Regions from separate parts of the Homo sapiens genome. Here regions 2 and 3 are each linked to region 1. The links are contacts of gene promoters, found by promoter capture Hi-C in blood cells and fetal thymus (Javierre and others, 2016). All regions are on one chromosome and are shown on one strand. The core of a region is centred on a gene start or on the middle of the fragment in contact, and the rest is flanking DNA. Distances in the headings are between cores, read along the strand shown. Region 1 holds the start of WIPI2 (WD repeat domain, phosphoinositide interacting 2). Region 2 overlaps RNF216 (ring finger protein 216). Region 3 overlaps RNF216 (ring finger protein 216).

Evidence for each region. The method cuts DNA at HindIII sites, captures the fragments that hold promoters and counts their contacts. A CHiCAGO score of 5 or more calls a contact.
Region 2: a contact is called between a fragment that was not itself captured here and the fragment with the promoter of WIPI2 in region 1, in 2 of 17 cell types (naive B cells and fetal thymus). The highest score is 5.8, in naive B cells.
Region 3: a contact is called between a fragment that was not itself captured here and the fragment with the promoter of WIPI2 in region 1, in 2 of 17 cell types (fetal thymus and erythroblasts). The highest score is 6.4, in fetal thymus.

The regions. Positions count from the first base shown.
Region 1 is chr7:5,186,756-5,191,573 of GRCh38, reverse strand. It overlaps WIPI2 (WD repeat domain, phosphoinositide interacting 2), which reads right to left and starts at 1,341. Exons shown (of 13, transcript NM_015610.4): 1 at 1,081-1,341. The coding sequence starts at 1,154. RefSeq lists silencers at 847-896, 907-1,556, 4,230-4,359. The HindIII fragment of the contact is 15,802 bases long and covers 1-4,818 here.
Region 2 is chr7:5,702,134-5,706,560 of GRCh38, reverse strand. The region is part of intron 13 of RNF216 (ring finger protein 216); the gene reads left to right. Among named protein-coding and RNA genes, the nearest start is that of MIR6874, 7.6 kb to the left of the region's middle. RefSeq lists an enhancer at 3,412-4,427. The HindIII fragment of the contact is 3,575 bases long and covers 1-3,277 here.
Region 3 is chr7:5,718,234-5,723,388 of GRCh38, reverse strand. RNF216 (ring finger protein 216) reads left to right here. Exons shown (of 17, transcript NM_207111.4): 9 at 2,217-2,356. Among named protein-coding and RNA genes, the nearest start is that of MIR6874, 8.9 kb to the right of the region's middle. The HindIII fragment of the contact is 3,138 bases long and covers 367-3,504 here.

The sequences.
Region 1 (4,818 bases), core at 92-2,591:
TCCTCCTCCCAGGCAGCATCCAACCCGTATCAGTGGGGACAAACAGCGTTCCGAATGCACGGGCTGGCATTAAGGCCTTCTCTTGCCCTGAGGATGACCCACCCGCTGGAGCTCTGAGACTCCTGGGGCACTGGTCCGTAACGCCTCTCTTGGCTCAGTTTCTCCCTAGCTAGGTCAGATGCCAAGGTTATTGCTAAGTTTGTTACTTGCTGGAGAAGACATCAAAGTTGATGTCCCAAAAAGAACAGGGAGGGCCGCGCACGGTGGCTCACACCTGTAATCCCAGCACTTTGGGAGGCTGAGGTGGGCGGATCACTTGAGGTCAGGAATTTGAGACCAGCCTGACCAACATGGTGAAACCCTGTCTCTACTACAAATACAAAAAAGTTAGCTGGGCACAGTGGCGCGTGCCTGTAGTCTCAGCTACTCGGGAGGCTGAGGCAGGAGAATCGCTTGAACCCAGGAGGCGGAGGTTGCAGTGAGCTGAGATGGCACCACTGCACTCCAGCCTGGGCAACAGAGCAAGACTCTGTCTCAAAACAAAACAAACCCCAAAAAACAAAAACAAACAAAAAAACAGTGAGAAACGAAGAAAAGAAAATCAAGAGAGAGAGAAGGGTCTTAAGACGATGAAAAGACAAGGAGAAGGGCCTGATTCAAAGGAGAGTGAGTGGGAGACGCTGAGCAAGCAGCGGGAAGAGGAGACGAGAGGAGAGGAAGCGACCCACACCCAGCGCTCCACAGGCGGCCAAGACAAGTCAAGCCCCAAAGTTCGGCCCCAACTTTGCGAGAAGTAGTTAAGTCTGAAGCCAGGGGGCCTCCCCGCAAGAGGGTGAAAGCAGCCCCCTCTCCACCACCTCTCCCGCTCCGGGACCGCAGCTCCAGGCCAGCACCCGAGGGTCTCCCTGGAGGGCGCCCCTCCCTGCACGCCCCGGGCCCGCCCCTGGGGACGCCTCTGCGCGCCTTGGCCCGCGGGGAGGCCGAGCCTGCGACGCCGCCGAGCTTGGCAGCGAGGCCCTCCCCCTAGCCCGGGTCCGACCCTGGCCTCACCCCGACTCCGACCCCCGACCCCGGCCTTACGTGTTGTCCTGGTTGAAGTTGGCGAAGAGCAGCTGGCCGGCGCCGGCCTCCCCGCTCTGGCTCGCCAGGTTCATGGCTGGGCGCGCGGCGAGTGGGCCCGGCCGGGGAGGGCGCGCGCGCGAGGGCGGGTCAGGCTGCACTCAGGGTCGGCGCCGGGCCCCGCTCGCCGCCTCGGTCGCCGCCACTCGCCACCCTGGGATCAACCGCCGCCTCATCCCGTCCCCGCTCTTGTTTATGCTCCAGAGCCGGGGCACCCGGTACGCCTGCGCGGCCCCGCCCCCGCGACGCACGGCCTCGAGCGGCGCAGTCGCACTGCGGAGGCCCCGCCCTCTCACCGCCTGCCTGGGCTTGGGTTCCGGTGGATCACGCAGGCGTGGGGACGCGTCGGGGCGCGCTGGGCCTGGCTGAGGGCGAGCGGCGGCCGCTCATGCGCATGGGGCAGAGCTGGCGGGAGTCTGTTTTCTGCGTACCCTCCTCTTAATAACACTCAATGGCCAGGCACGGTGGCCTGTAATCCCAGCATTTTGGGAGGCCAAGGCGGGCGGATCACCTAAGATCAGAAGTTCGAGACCAGCCTGGCCAACATGGTGAAACCCCGTCTCTACTAAAAATACAAGAAAAATTAGCCGGGCTTGGTGGTGTACGCCTGTAATCCCAGCTACTCGGGAGGCTGAGGCAAGATAATCGCTTGAACCCAGGAGGCGGAGATTGCAGTGAGCCGAGATCATGCCACTGCAATCCATCCAGCCTGGGCCATAGAGCGAGACTCTGTCTCAAACAACAACAAAAACAAAAACAAAAACACCCCAATGGGCCCTCCATGTGCCAATCACTGTGCTGAATGCTTCTGCGCATTACCTTATCATTTTATTATTTTGAAAGACAAGGTCTCGCTCTGTTGCCTAGGCTGGAGTGCAGAGGCTCAATCACAGCTCACTGCAGCCTCAAACTCAGGCTCAAGCGATCCTCCCACCTTAGCCTCCCAAGTAGCTGGGACCACAAATGCATGCCACCACACCCTGCTAACTTTTAAGTTTTTTGTAGAGATGGGGTGGGGGCGGGGGGGGTCTTACTCTGTTGCCTAGGCTGGTCTCGCACTCCTGGCCTCAAGTGATGCTCCCACCTCGGCCTCCCAAAGTACTGGGATTACAGATGTGAGCCACTGTGCCCAGCCACATTATCTTATTTGATGCCCATTACAATCCTAAGTAGAGAATAGTATATCTTAATTTTACAGATTTGAAAATCGAGGCTCAGAAATAATTATTAGCCAAGTGCTAGATCTGAGACTGGAAACGTCCTGTTTCTCCAAGGTCCATACTGTCTGGGTTCCTGGGACAGAATCGTCCCTTAAATTTATTCATTCATTCAACAGTATTTAGGACGCACCTCTCATGTGAACTAAATAGGCCTCCTCCTTTCCCTCAGAGAAGTTATAATGGGGAGATATTTAAATATAAATAGAAGGCCAGGTGTGGTGGCTCTTACCTGTAATCCCAGCACTTTGGGAGGCTGAGGCGGGTGGATCACCTGAGGTCGGGAGTTCCAGACCAGCCTGGCTAACATGGTGAAACCCCGTCTCTACTAAAAGTACAAAAGTTAGCTGGGTATGGTGGTGGGCACCTGTAATCTCAGCTACTAGGGAGGCTGAGGTGGGAGAATTGCTTGAGCCCCACAGGTGGAGGTTGCAGTGAGCCGAGATTGCACCTCTGCACTCCAGCCTGGACGGACGACAGAGTGAGACTCCATCTAAAAAGTAAAATAAAATAGGCTGGGCATGGTGACTCACGCCTGTAACCCCAGCACTTTGGGAGGCTGAGGCAGGTGGATCACCTGAGGTCATGAGTTTGAGACTAGCCTGCCCAACATGGTGAAACCCTGTCTCTAGGAAAAATGTAAAATATTAGCCAGTTGTGGTGGCACGGCCCTGTAATCCCAGCTACTCAGGAGACTGAGATGGGAGAATTGCTTGAACCCAGGAGGTGAAGGCTGCAGTGAGCCGAGATCATGCCACTGCACTCCAGCCTGGGCGACACAGTGAGACTCCATCTCAAAAAATAAAATAAATAAATATAATTAGAAACTCGGGGGTACAATGAGCGAATATATATATATATATATATATATATATATTTTTTTTTTTTTTTTTTTTTTTTTTGAGACGGAATTTCACCTTCTTGACCAGGCTGGAGTGCGATGGCGCAATCTCGGCTCACTGCAACGTCCACCTTCCGGGTTCAAGTGATTCTCCTGCCTCAGCCTCCCGAGTAGCTGGGATTACAGGTGTGCACCATCACGCCCAGTTAATTTTTGTATGTTTAGTGGAGACGGGATTTCTCCATGTTGGTCACGCTGGTCTCGAACTTCCGACCTCAGGTAATCTGCCTGCCTCGGCCTCCCAAAGTGCTGGGATTACAGGCATGAGCCACTGTGCCTGACCATGAATGCATATATAGAAGTCACACAACCTATATTTAAGGGACAGGGACTGTGCTATTGAGAAGGCTCCTGGAAGAGATGAGACCTGAAGTTTGAGTAACTAGTCTAAGGGCATGAAAACACTCTATATGGGAAGGGCTTGAGGATGAGGGTGTGACCTGTCCAAAGAACTCTATGTTCAGAGTGGAAAGGCAGACACAAGGCAAGATTTGGCAGGAGAGACAGGAGGTGGCCAGATCAAGCTGCGTATTGTTACGCAAGGAACTGACCATTATCTGATTATTGTCCATAAGAGCAATGGTCTGCCGTTAAAGACAGGCAGGAAAGTGGAACGATCTAATGAGTGCTTACAGAAGTTAATTCTAATTATAGGGTCAAGAACGCATTGGAAATCATTGAGGAAAGGATGGTCTTTTCAATAAAAGGAATAAGTACCCCTACCTCACACCATATTCAAAAATTAATTTGAGATGGATTACAGTCCTAGATGTGAGAGGTAAAAACAATAGAATTTCTAGAAGGAAACGAGAATGCCTTCATGATTTTGGGATAAACAAAGTAGTCTAAACAGGTACTTTAAAGCGGATGTGTTGGCTCATGCCTGTAATCCCAACACTTTGGGAGGCTGAGGCAGGCGGATTGCTTGAGTCCAGGAGTTTGAAACCAGACTAGGCAACATGGGGAAACCCGGTCTCTACAAAAATACAAAAATTAGCTGGGCGTGGTGGTGTGCGCCTGTGGTCCCAGCTCCTTCAGAGGCTAAGGCGGGAGGATGGCTTGAGCCTGGGAGTTCAAGCCTGCAGTGAGCTATGACCGCGCCACTACACTCCAGCCTGGGTGACAGAGCAAGATCCTGTCTCAAAACAAAACAAGTTCTTTAAAAAGTAGTAACCACAGGCCGGGCGCGGTGGCTCACGCCTGTAATCCAGCATGTTGGGAGGCCAAGACAGGCAGATCACGAGGTCAGGAGATCGAGACCATCCTGGCTGACATGGCGAAACCCCGTCTCTACTAAAAATACAAAAAATTAGCCGGGTGTGGTGGCTGGTGCCTGTGGTCCCAGCTACTCAAGAGGCTGAGGCAGGAGAATGGCGTGAACCCGGGAGGTGGAGGTTGCAGTGAGCTGAGATCGCACCACTGCACTCCAGCCTGGGTGACAGAGCGAGACTCTGTCTCAAAAGAAAAAAAGTAGTAACCACAAAATGAGAGATTGGCCTTCATCAACATTGAGAAGAATGGGCTATTTTCAAGAGACCATTAAGAGAGGAAGAAAAGGCAAGATTTAGAGATACATATATT
Region 2 (4,427 bases), core at 241-2,740, 510 kb before region 1:
CTGGCACATACTAACAACACAGATAAACCACCTTGAGGGACATTGTGTTCAGTGCAATTAGCCAGTCATAGAAGGACAGATACTGCACGATTCCACTTAAATGCAGGATCTAAAGTAGTCAGACTCATAGAAACACAAAGTAGAACCCTGGGTGCCAGAGGCTGGGAGAAGGCAAAGTGGGGAGTCACTGTGCAGTGGGAAGTTTCAGTCATGCCAGATTAAGTTGTTTAGAGATCAGCTGTACAACATTTTGCTAACAGACCCTGTACACTTAAAAATGTGTTAATTGGGTAGTTTTTGTATTGTGTGTTTTCACCACAATTTTTTTTTTTTTTTTTTTTGAGATGGAGTGTCGCTGTGTTGCTCAGGCTGGAGTGCAGTGGTGCAATCTCAGCTCACTGCAACCTCCACCTTCCGGGTGCAAGCGATTCTCCTGCCTCAGCCTCCTGAATAGCTGGGACTACAGGCACATGCCACCATGCCCGGCTAATTTTTTGCATTTTTAGTAGAGACGGGGTTTCACCATGTTAGCCAGGATGATCTTGATCTCCTGACCTCGTAATCCTCCACCTGCTTCGGCCTCCCAGAGTGGTGTTTTGTTTTGTTTTGTTTTGTTTTGTTTTGTTTTGTTTTGTTTTGTTTTAGTTTTTGTTGAGATGGAGTTTCGCTCTTCTTGCCCAGGCTGGAGTGCAATGGTATGATCTTGGCTCACCATAACCTCCGCCTCCCAGGTTCAAGCAATTCTCCTGCCCCAGCCTCCCGAGTAGCTGTGATTACCTGCATGTGCCACCACGCCCGGCTAATGTTGTATTTTTGTAGAGGCGGGGTTTCTCCATGTTGGTCCGTCTGGTCTCGAACTCCTGACCTCAGGTGATCTGCCTGCCTTGGCCTCCCAAAGTGCTGGGATTACAGGGTGAGCCACCGTGCCCAGCCTACCGCAGTTTTTTTTAAAGGGCATATGGTTCATTTTTTCCCTCTGCCAAGAGGGATGTGCAGCATGAGTGAGAACAAAGTCTGTTTTGAACTACTGAGGTTTGAGTTTGTTCCAGCAGCATAACCTAGCACATCCTGACTGATAAGGATCATAAGGACCATAACTGCCCTTGGAGTTGGAGAACAGGAGCAGATTTGAGAGGTAGAGGATTAGAAGGTGATATGTTGCATGTGAAGGTGGGGAGAAAGCCAGAGGTCTCACAGGCGTGTCTGGTTTGGACCACTATGTAGTTGATGATGCTGTTTACAAAACTGGAAATGGAATCCAAAAGATTCAGGAGAGATTACTTTTGTTTTGGACATGTTGAGTTTTTAGGGGAGACATCCAGTGTGTACGTGTTTTTACAATGCCTGGCACATAGTAGGTGCTCCATAAATCAGTGACCCTAGATCAGTGATCCGGGTCAGTAACACAGGGAGAGATCTAGGCTGGAAAAAGATTTTGGAGTCTGAAATGAGCAGCAAAAGGAGGAAAGAGGAGGAGAGGGGTAAGGTGCCCATCAGGGAGATTATTATTAGCTTAGAAATGCTGGGCCATGCTAAGTTTAAAGTATGTTTTTTCATTTATTCACATCTTTTTATGCCCCTCAGCAACGTTTTGCAGTGGAGAGAATGTGTGTTATGATTACATGATGGATTACAGTATGTTTCAGAACTTGACTTTCACCTATGGATAACAGCATTCACATTTTAGTTTCTAATGTTAGGGTAAGGATTGTAGGTGTTTGGCCCATCATGGAAAATAAAGTGAAAAATGTTATATGGGGACCTGAGGCAGTGACGGCCTGGTGGAGCTGGCTCAGTGACCACCAGAGGAATGAGAGAAGTCCCCACCTTGTCCTTTGGATGAGAAAGGAGAGTTTATGCCTAATCTTCTGTCCTTATTTGTGGGCTGTGGAACGAGTTGCCACTAGGTGGCACAGATGCTCCATGAGGAAAGGGTTTTCTTCCTCTTGGGTGTTTGAAAAGTATGTGTCAGCAAAACACTGTTTTGTAAGCAGAATTGACACAGTTCTTTTGGGCTCAGTACCAAAGCAAATCGCTACGTGCATTTAGACTTTATCTAAGAAGTCCATGTTATTAGCGCATACGCTTTTACCTTTCTCAGTTGTGCAAATTCTCCTTATGCCATTCTTTGTAGCAAGATGGCTAAAGCAGTCGCTAATCCTTGAGGATTCCTGATATTTAAGACATGAGCCACAAGCTAATTTTGACCCGTGTGAGACTAAGGGCACCTGCTTTCTCATTGCAGTGTCTTTGCCAGTAATATAAATTCCAGTTGGCTTTTCAGGAACTTGTCGCTCTGAAATGAGGCGTTTATATTAATACGGCATTAATATAAACGTATTAATATAAGACGGCCTCTGGAGGAGGACTTGAATGGCTGGAATCAGTCCTCTGGAATCCCTGAAGAATAAGACACTGTATCTTTGATGAAATGGAGAGAGTCTTTGTTTCATTGATATGATGGAATGCTTTTGTCAAGGCTCTCAGCTCCCTTGTGTGTTCTCAGATAAAGAATTCATTAGTTTGTTTTCAGTGTGCTGCTTTTAGGAATGAATTGGGTGTGTTTGGTGTGAGACTGAAGAGTGTTACATAAAAGGAGATTTGAAGGTGATGCTTCTGGAATATGTATTCTTAGGGTCAGAAGTTTCACTGTTGAGTCTTTTCTGCCTTGCCACAGCCATAACTTTGCTTTATAAACTCAGAGCTGTGTAAGTCAAGTTTTCCAGAAACTTAGGGCCACAAGGTGGAGGTTTAGGCACACTCATGAAGCAAGCGCTAACGACGAGAGACCATCAGGTGGTGAGAGTTTAATCAGAGTAACTGAAGAACATCTGGTGTAGTCTTTTCGTGGAAACTGCAAATGTGTGTGTGGTTGTGTAACCACCCATCTTTTCCCAATGTCACTTGTATTTATTTATCTTTTCTCACCTGCCAGCTTTCTTCCCTGCTTGTTTTTCTGCCCTTTCTAGGTTCCCATCCTATTCTTTGTAGCATTTGCTGTTTTTAACTTTACAGCCGTGAAGTACAACCAAAATTCACATCTGCAGTGAACCAGTTTGTTGGTTAAAAAACAGGCATCTGCAGCCTCCTACAGTAGCTGCATGGCTGCGTGAAGAGAATGTAAATGAGTGTGGACCAGCTATCAATGCCAGGGCAGCTCCAGCTGTGATGGCGGGTGGTTGGCACTTATTAACAGCACTCTAATTTGGGGCCCAGCCAGTCAGCTGACTCCTGTGCTGAGCACGGCCTTCACATTTATCTAGAGATGAATGAAGCTTGGGCCACTTGTTCCTACTATCAGGGAAGACCTTTATTCAGGAAGTAGCGTTGACAAGAACCAAATAGCTGGGTAACAAAAAGATTTTTAAGCCCACAAATGAGGACTCATTTACTGGAGTGGAAGTCCATGCTGCATGATGTGAGTCAAATATGAAGGAGGGTGGTGTGAGAATTTCTCATCATGGAATGTGACCTGCCCTTGCTCCTCCAAGGTGAGTCACTTTCTTCAGAGCCCAGCATGGGTCCCTCTGAAGAGCTTCAGGTTCAGGCCGCAGAAGGACGCTCCCTTACAGGTATATCATGTAGGGTGCCTGGCAGAGCTCTCAGCTCATATTGGTCCCCACAGCAGCCCTACAAAATAGACACTGGCTTAAAGTCAGGTGATGGTAAATGGCAGAGCTGAGTGGGTCGCAGACACCATCCCTGTGAGCCTCCCTTCCGTCACGTACTGAGCAGGGCTGGCGTCATAGCAAGGAGGCTTCAGGATTTTTAACTCTACTTGTGTCTGAGTACTTCTGTCAGTTTTCACTTTTTAAAATTTCACTTTTTAAAATTTAAAAGCATAGTGAATCTATTCATCACAGACTTCTTGATCCTGGGAAGGTTTTGGTTAATTACACACGCAAGCACATCCTCTTCCCTTACCTGCTATTGAAGCACAGTAAATACAGCATAGAGTAGATGTGTTTGTTAGATTCTTTTAAAGAAGAAGAAAAATAATAAAAGGCAAATGTTGCTTGCCTCCCTTCCCACCCTGCCTTCCCATTAAGAGTCAAATACCATGCTTGCTGTTTCAGTGATTATTCAGAAGGGAGAGAGCTGACAACCCGAAATAGGGAAAGGTAAAAATACATACGCATTATAACAAAACGCCAATATGAATAAAAATTTTATTTTTGTTTCTGCTTGGCCCTGTGGAAATAGTTTTTTACCCCTGTATTTCAGCTACTTTATCCCTCATGTCAGATGCTAATGGTAGAAGCACCTGCCTCTCCCCTTGGCCCGCCTTGGAGGAGGCTGGGAGCTGTGAGTGAACATGGACTATGCTGCCACTCCCACTCCCTCTGCAGGGCTGCTGCAGCCCCTCAGGTTTCTCCCCTCGAAACTCGCAGAGGCAACTGCTGACCCCCCGGCAGGTGGCAGAGCCC
Region 3 (5,155 bases), core at 686-3,185, 530 kb before region 1:
GCTTGAGCCACCGCACCCGGCCAATTGCATTTATTTTTTAAAATAAAGGACTGAAAATAAATCTTATTACTTTAACATGATAAACTACAAAAAGAACTGAGTAAAGACGAAAGAAATAATAGGTGAAAATTTTTTTAATTTGTAGCATTGATAATTACAGTAATTAACATTGAGCACTTAATATGTACCAGTCACTTTTCTAAGTGCTTTAATGGATTAATTCATTTATGTTTCAAATAGCCTTATGAGATGTATGTGCCATTATTATCATTTTATAGAAAAAAAGTGAAGCACAGAGAGGTTAAGTAACTTGGCAGATGTTACACAGCTAGCGAGTAGCCCAGCTGGGAATCTGGCTTCAAAGCTTACTGTCTAACCACGTGCTTTTCTATTCTCATAATACCAAAAACTGATTTTTTTTGTTGCTGTTGTTTTTTTTAATTTTAAGACGGAGTCCACTTCCCAAGCTCAAGCGATTCTCCTGCCTCAGCCTCGCAAGTAGCTGGAATTAATTACAGGTGTGCGCCATCATGCCTGGGGGGTTTCACCATGTTGGACAGGTTGGTCTCGAACTCCTAACCTTAGATGATGTGCCCTCCTTGGCCTCCCAAAGTGCTGGGATTACAGGCGTGAGTCACTGCGCCTGGCCCCAAAAACTGGTTTTCTGAAGAAAAGGTTTGAATTTAAAAAAACATGAGAGGCTGGGCGCGGTGGCTCATGCCTGTAATCCTGGCACTTTGGGAGGCCGAGGCAGGCGGATCACGAGGTCGGGAGATCAAGACCATCCTGGCTAACACAGTGAAACCCCGTCTTTACTAAAAATACAAAAAATTAGCCGGGCATGGTGGCGGGCGCCTGTAGTCCCAGCTACTCGGGAGGCTGAGGCAGGAGAATGGCGTGAACCCCGGGGGGCGGAGCTGACAGTGAGCCGAGATCGCACCACTGCACCCTTGCCTGGGCAACAGAGTGAGACTCTGTCTCAAAAAAAAACAAAACAAACAAACAAACAAAAAAAAAAACATGAGAATGAGCAAGAGAAAAGGAGAATCAAAATAAAATGTATTAGGAACCAGATAGTAAATATTAAAATCAAGAGATTACCAAGAACAGACAAGAGTAAATTGAAAATCTGAATGAGATAAAGTTTTCTAGAAAAACATAAATTGGCCAGGCGTTGTGGCTCACACCTGTAATCCCAGCACTTTGGGAGGCCAAGGCTGGTGGATCATTTAGCCCAGGACTTCAAGACCAGCCTGGACAACATGGCAAAATCCCATCTCTAAAAAAATACAAAAAAATTAGCTGGGTGTGGTGGCATCTGCCTGTATAGTCCCAGCTCCTCAGGAGGCTGAGGCGGGAGGATTGCCTGAGCCCAGGAGTTGAGGCTGCAGTGATCTGTGAATGTGCCACTGCACTCCAGCGTGAGCAGCAGAGCAAGGCTCTGTCTCCAAAAAGAAAATCATAAATTGCCAAATCAGTGAAACAAGTACAAAACCTAAACAGATCATTTACGTGTCTAATATTTGTTATTCTGCTCTCTTTTATTCTCATGTTATAATATATTGTGGTGAATCTAGGTACTGTTCCTTCAGCCCCTTGTATATTTGAATGCTTTGAAAATAAAAATGGTTGAAAATCATACAGCACATTTGCACCCACCAGAATGGCTAAAATTAAAAACCGATGATAGGTGTTGGTAAGGACATGGAGAGACTGGAACTCACATGCATTGCTGATGGAGGAAGGGTGTAAACTGGTACAACCACTTTGGAAAACTGGCATTATTTTCTGAAGCTGGAAGTAAGCCTATCCCATGATCTAGCAATTCGCAGGTAAATTGCGGACATACATTCACCAACAAATGGCTATAAGCAGCGCTATTCAGATTAACCCAAAACAGCAAACCCAAATGTCCTCAGTAGTGAAATAGATAATAAATTGTGGTATATTCACATAGTACACTAGTGACAGGATAGGAGATGCCTTCCAATTGGAGCATAAACAGAGGGAAAGAATCAGAAAGGTCAAAAAATGGATGGTAGGTTGGCTAATGGTAAGAAGCCCAGTCTTCCCAAATGGTAGAATGTGATAGAAAAGTCATGAAACGTACCATCAGAGAGAAGGTGGAGGATGAGGCCGGGAAGAATGGACATGGCTGGCCCAGGTTCCTAACACATAGTTGTCTGCATGCTTTTGCATTGTCGTATATCTTCTAGGTGACATAAAAATAGAAAAGAGGATGTTCTTTCTTGAAAATAAGCGACGACATTGTAGGTCCTATGACCGACGTGCTCTCCTTCCAGCTGTGCAACAAGAGCAGGAGTTCTATGAGCAGAAAATCAAAGAGATGGCAGAGGTAGGAAGATGTGCTCTGGTCTTGGGGTGTGTTTCTGGGATTCTGGTTTGCTCTTAGGGTTTAGTTAGTACAAAACTGTCTTTTAAGATTTCCCTTTTCTTCAGACTGTTAAATTTGGATATATGCAAAGTTTTTAAAAGAAAAAACCTGGATTTTGTCATAATACTTATGTTTGTGGTTTCATAAATCAGATTCATGTTAGAAAATTTTAATTGGAGCTTAGTGTATCTATTTTACCTCCTCCCTCAGCCTCGGTTCCATTTCGCTCTTTAATTTTTCTAAATATAGTATCAAATGTGCAAGTCAGCTGGAATGTATATATTGGTTGTTTAATAAGTATCTTCTAAACCAGTGGCTCTCAAAGTGTGACCCAGAGATCCCTGGGTTTCCCAAGACTCTCTTGGGGGTCTGCGAGGTCAAACCTCTTATAACTATGCTAAGACATTACAGTGACCCTTGAACAACATGAAAGTTAGGAGTGCTTCCCCCTGTGCAGCTGAAAGTCAGCATATAATGTTTGACTGCCCCAAAACTTCACTGTGAACAGCCTACCGTTGACAGGAAGCCTTACCCATAATAGTCGATGAGCACGTTTGGTATGTTTTGTGTATTACATGCTGTATTCTTAGAATAAGGTAAGCTAGAGAAAACGTTATTAAGAAAATGAGAAGGAAAATATATTTCATATTCATTAAATGGAAGTGTGGATCAGCATGAGAAGGTCTTTATCTTCATGGTCTTCACGTTGAGTAGGCTGAGGAGGAGGGGTGTGTTGGTTTTGCTGTCTCAGGGTGGCAGAAGCAGAAGAAAATCAGCACATAAGTGGGTCCCCACAGTTCACATCTCTGTTGATCAAGCTCAGCTATATTTGCTTTTTCACCATATTGAGTTTGTACCAGCAGAACAAAAGCAGTGGTGCCTTGGCATGAATCAGGCCAGTGTCGTAGAGCCATCGTCACAATCATTGTTTTCTTCACCACCATGCACTTACATTTTTAAGACACACCAGTTTCACCTGAAAATGTCTTTGATAAAGCAGTAAAAATTACTTTACCAAGTTTTGACCGTTGGAAACATCTTTTCAATATTCTGTGTAATAAAATGAAGTCTTCATAAAGTGCTTCTGCCACATCCCAGGATATGAAGCTTGTCTTATATCCAGGTATGAGGAAAGCACTTATGCAACTGAGCCACAAAGCAGCTGCATTGGCCACTTTTTACTTGGAAAAAAGTGACAGAAAAACTATGATTATTCAAAATAGGTATTTGGCAGGCATTTTCTCAAAAATGAATGAAGTGATTATTTTTGACCAAAATTCTAGATTTTAAGCAGAAATTAGAATTTATTGTTTTGATCCATCTGTTATAGAATGACATTCATTGATATCACCAATCTTATCAGATAAGTATTTAAAGTATTGGCAAATTGATGAATGTAGTTCATTGTAGTCTTTTATTCTTGGTGATATTCACATTGTCCCATCTCTGACTATTGGCTGCCCCTTCAAGTTAGTCTCTCTTAACCCGACCCCTGTAGTCTCTGACAACATCTTTGCTTTTGGGCACAGCCAAATGACCCCGTTTCAGCTTCTGCTTTCTCAGACCTGGACTCAACAATTTTCCAAAGTACCTTCTTTGCTTTTTTCTTTTCTTTTTTGACAGAGGAGCTCCATGTGTTACTTAGGCTGGAGTGCAGTGATGCAATCATGGCTTACTGCTTCAACCTACCTCCTGGGCTCAAGCAGTCCTTCCATCTCAACCTCCTGAGTAATTGGGACTGCAGGTGTGCACCACCACACCTGGCTAACTTTTTTTGTAGAGCCTGGGTTTCCCCATGCTGTCCAGGCTGGTCTCGAACTTCTGGCCTCAAGCCGTCCTCCCAACTCAGCCGCCCAAATTGTTGGGGTTACAGGCATGCACCACCATGCCCTGCCAACTTTCTTTTCTCTGATGCTAAAAGTCTTGGTTCTTAATAATATTAATAACATTATTCAATATTTAAAATATTTTAAAGTCACTTGAAATAAATCTCGGTGCTTATACCATTAACTTGATAAACAAGTTTATTCGTTTCTGGCCAGGCACAGTGGCTTATGCATGTAATCCCAGCACTTTGGGAGGCCAAGGCAGGCAATCACTTGAGGCCAGGAGTTCAAGACTAAAAAAACTTAAGTTTGGCCGGGTGGGATGGCTCATGCCTGTAATCCCAGCATGATTACATGCTTTGGAAGGCCGAGGTGGGCAGATCACCTGAGATCAGGAGTTACAGACCAGCCTGACCAACATGGCAAAACTCTGTCTCTACTAAAAATAAATTAGCTGGGCATGGTGGCACACACCTGTAATCCCAGCTACTTGGGAGGATGAGGCACGAGAATTGCTTGAACATGGGAGGTCGAGGTTGGTTGCAGTGAGCCAAAATCATGCCACTGCACTCCAGCCTGGGCAACAAAGCAAGACTCAGTTTCAAAAAAAAAAAAAAGGGTGGGTTATTTCTTTCTGTTTGTTTTGAACTTTTAGAGAATTGGTTTTGTTTTTTTGTCTAAGGTTGTAAAAATTTTAGTTCTGAAATAAAAACTATAAAACAAGGAATATTCAGAAATATCTAGCTTTTGTGCTGTCCCTTTCTCGCATTTTGTTTGTTTGTTTTTTGAGACGGAGTCTCGCTTTGTCACCCAGGCTGGAGTGCAGTGGCAGGATCTCGGCTCACTGCAACGTCTGACTCCTGGGTTCAAGGGCTTCTCCTGCCTCAGCCACCTTAGTAGCTGGGATTACAGGTGCGCCCCACCATGCCTGGCT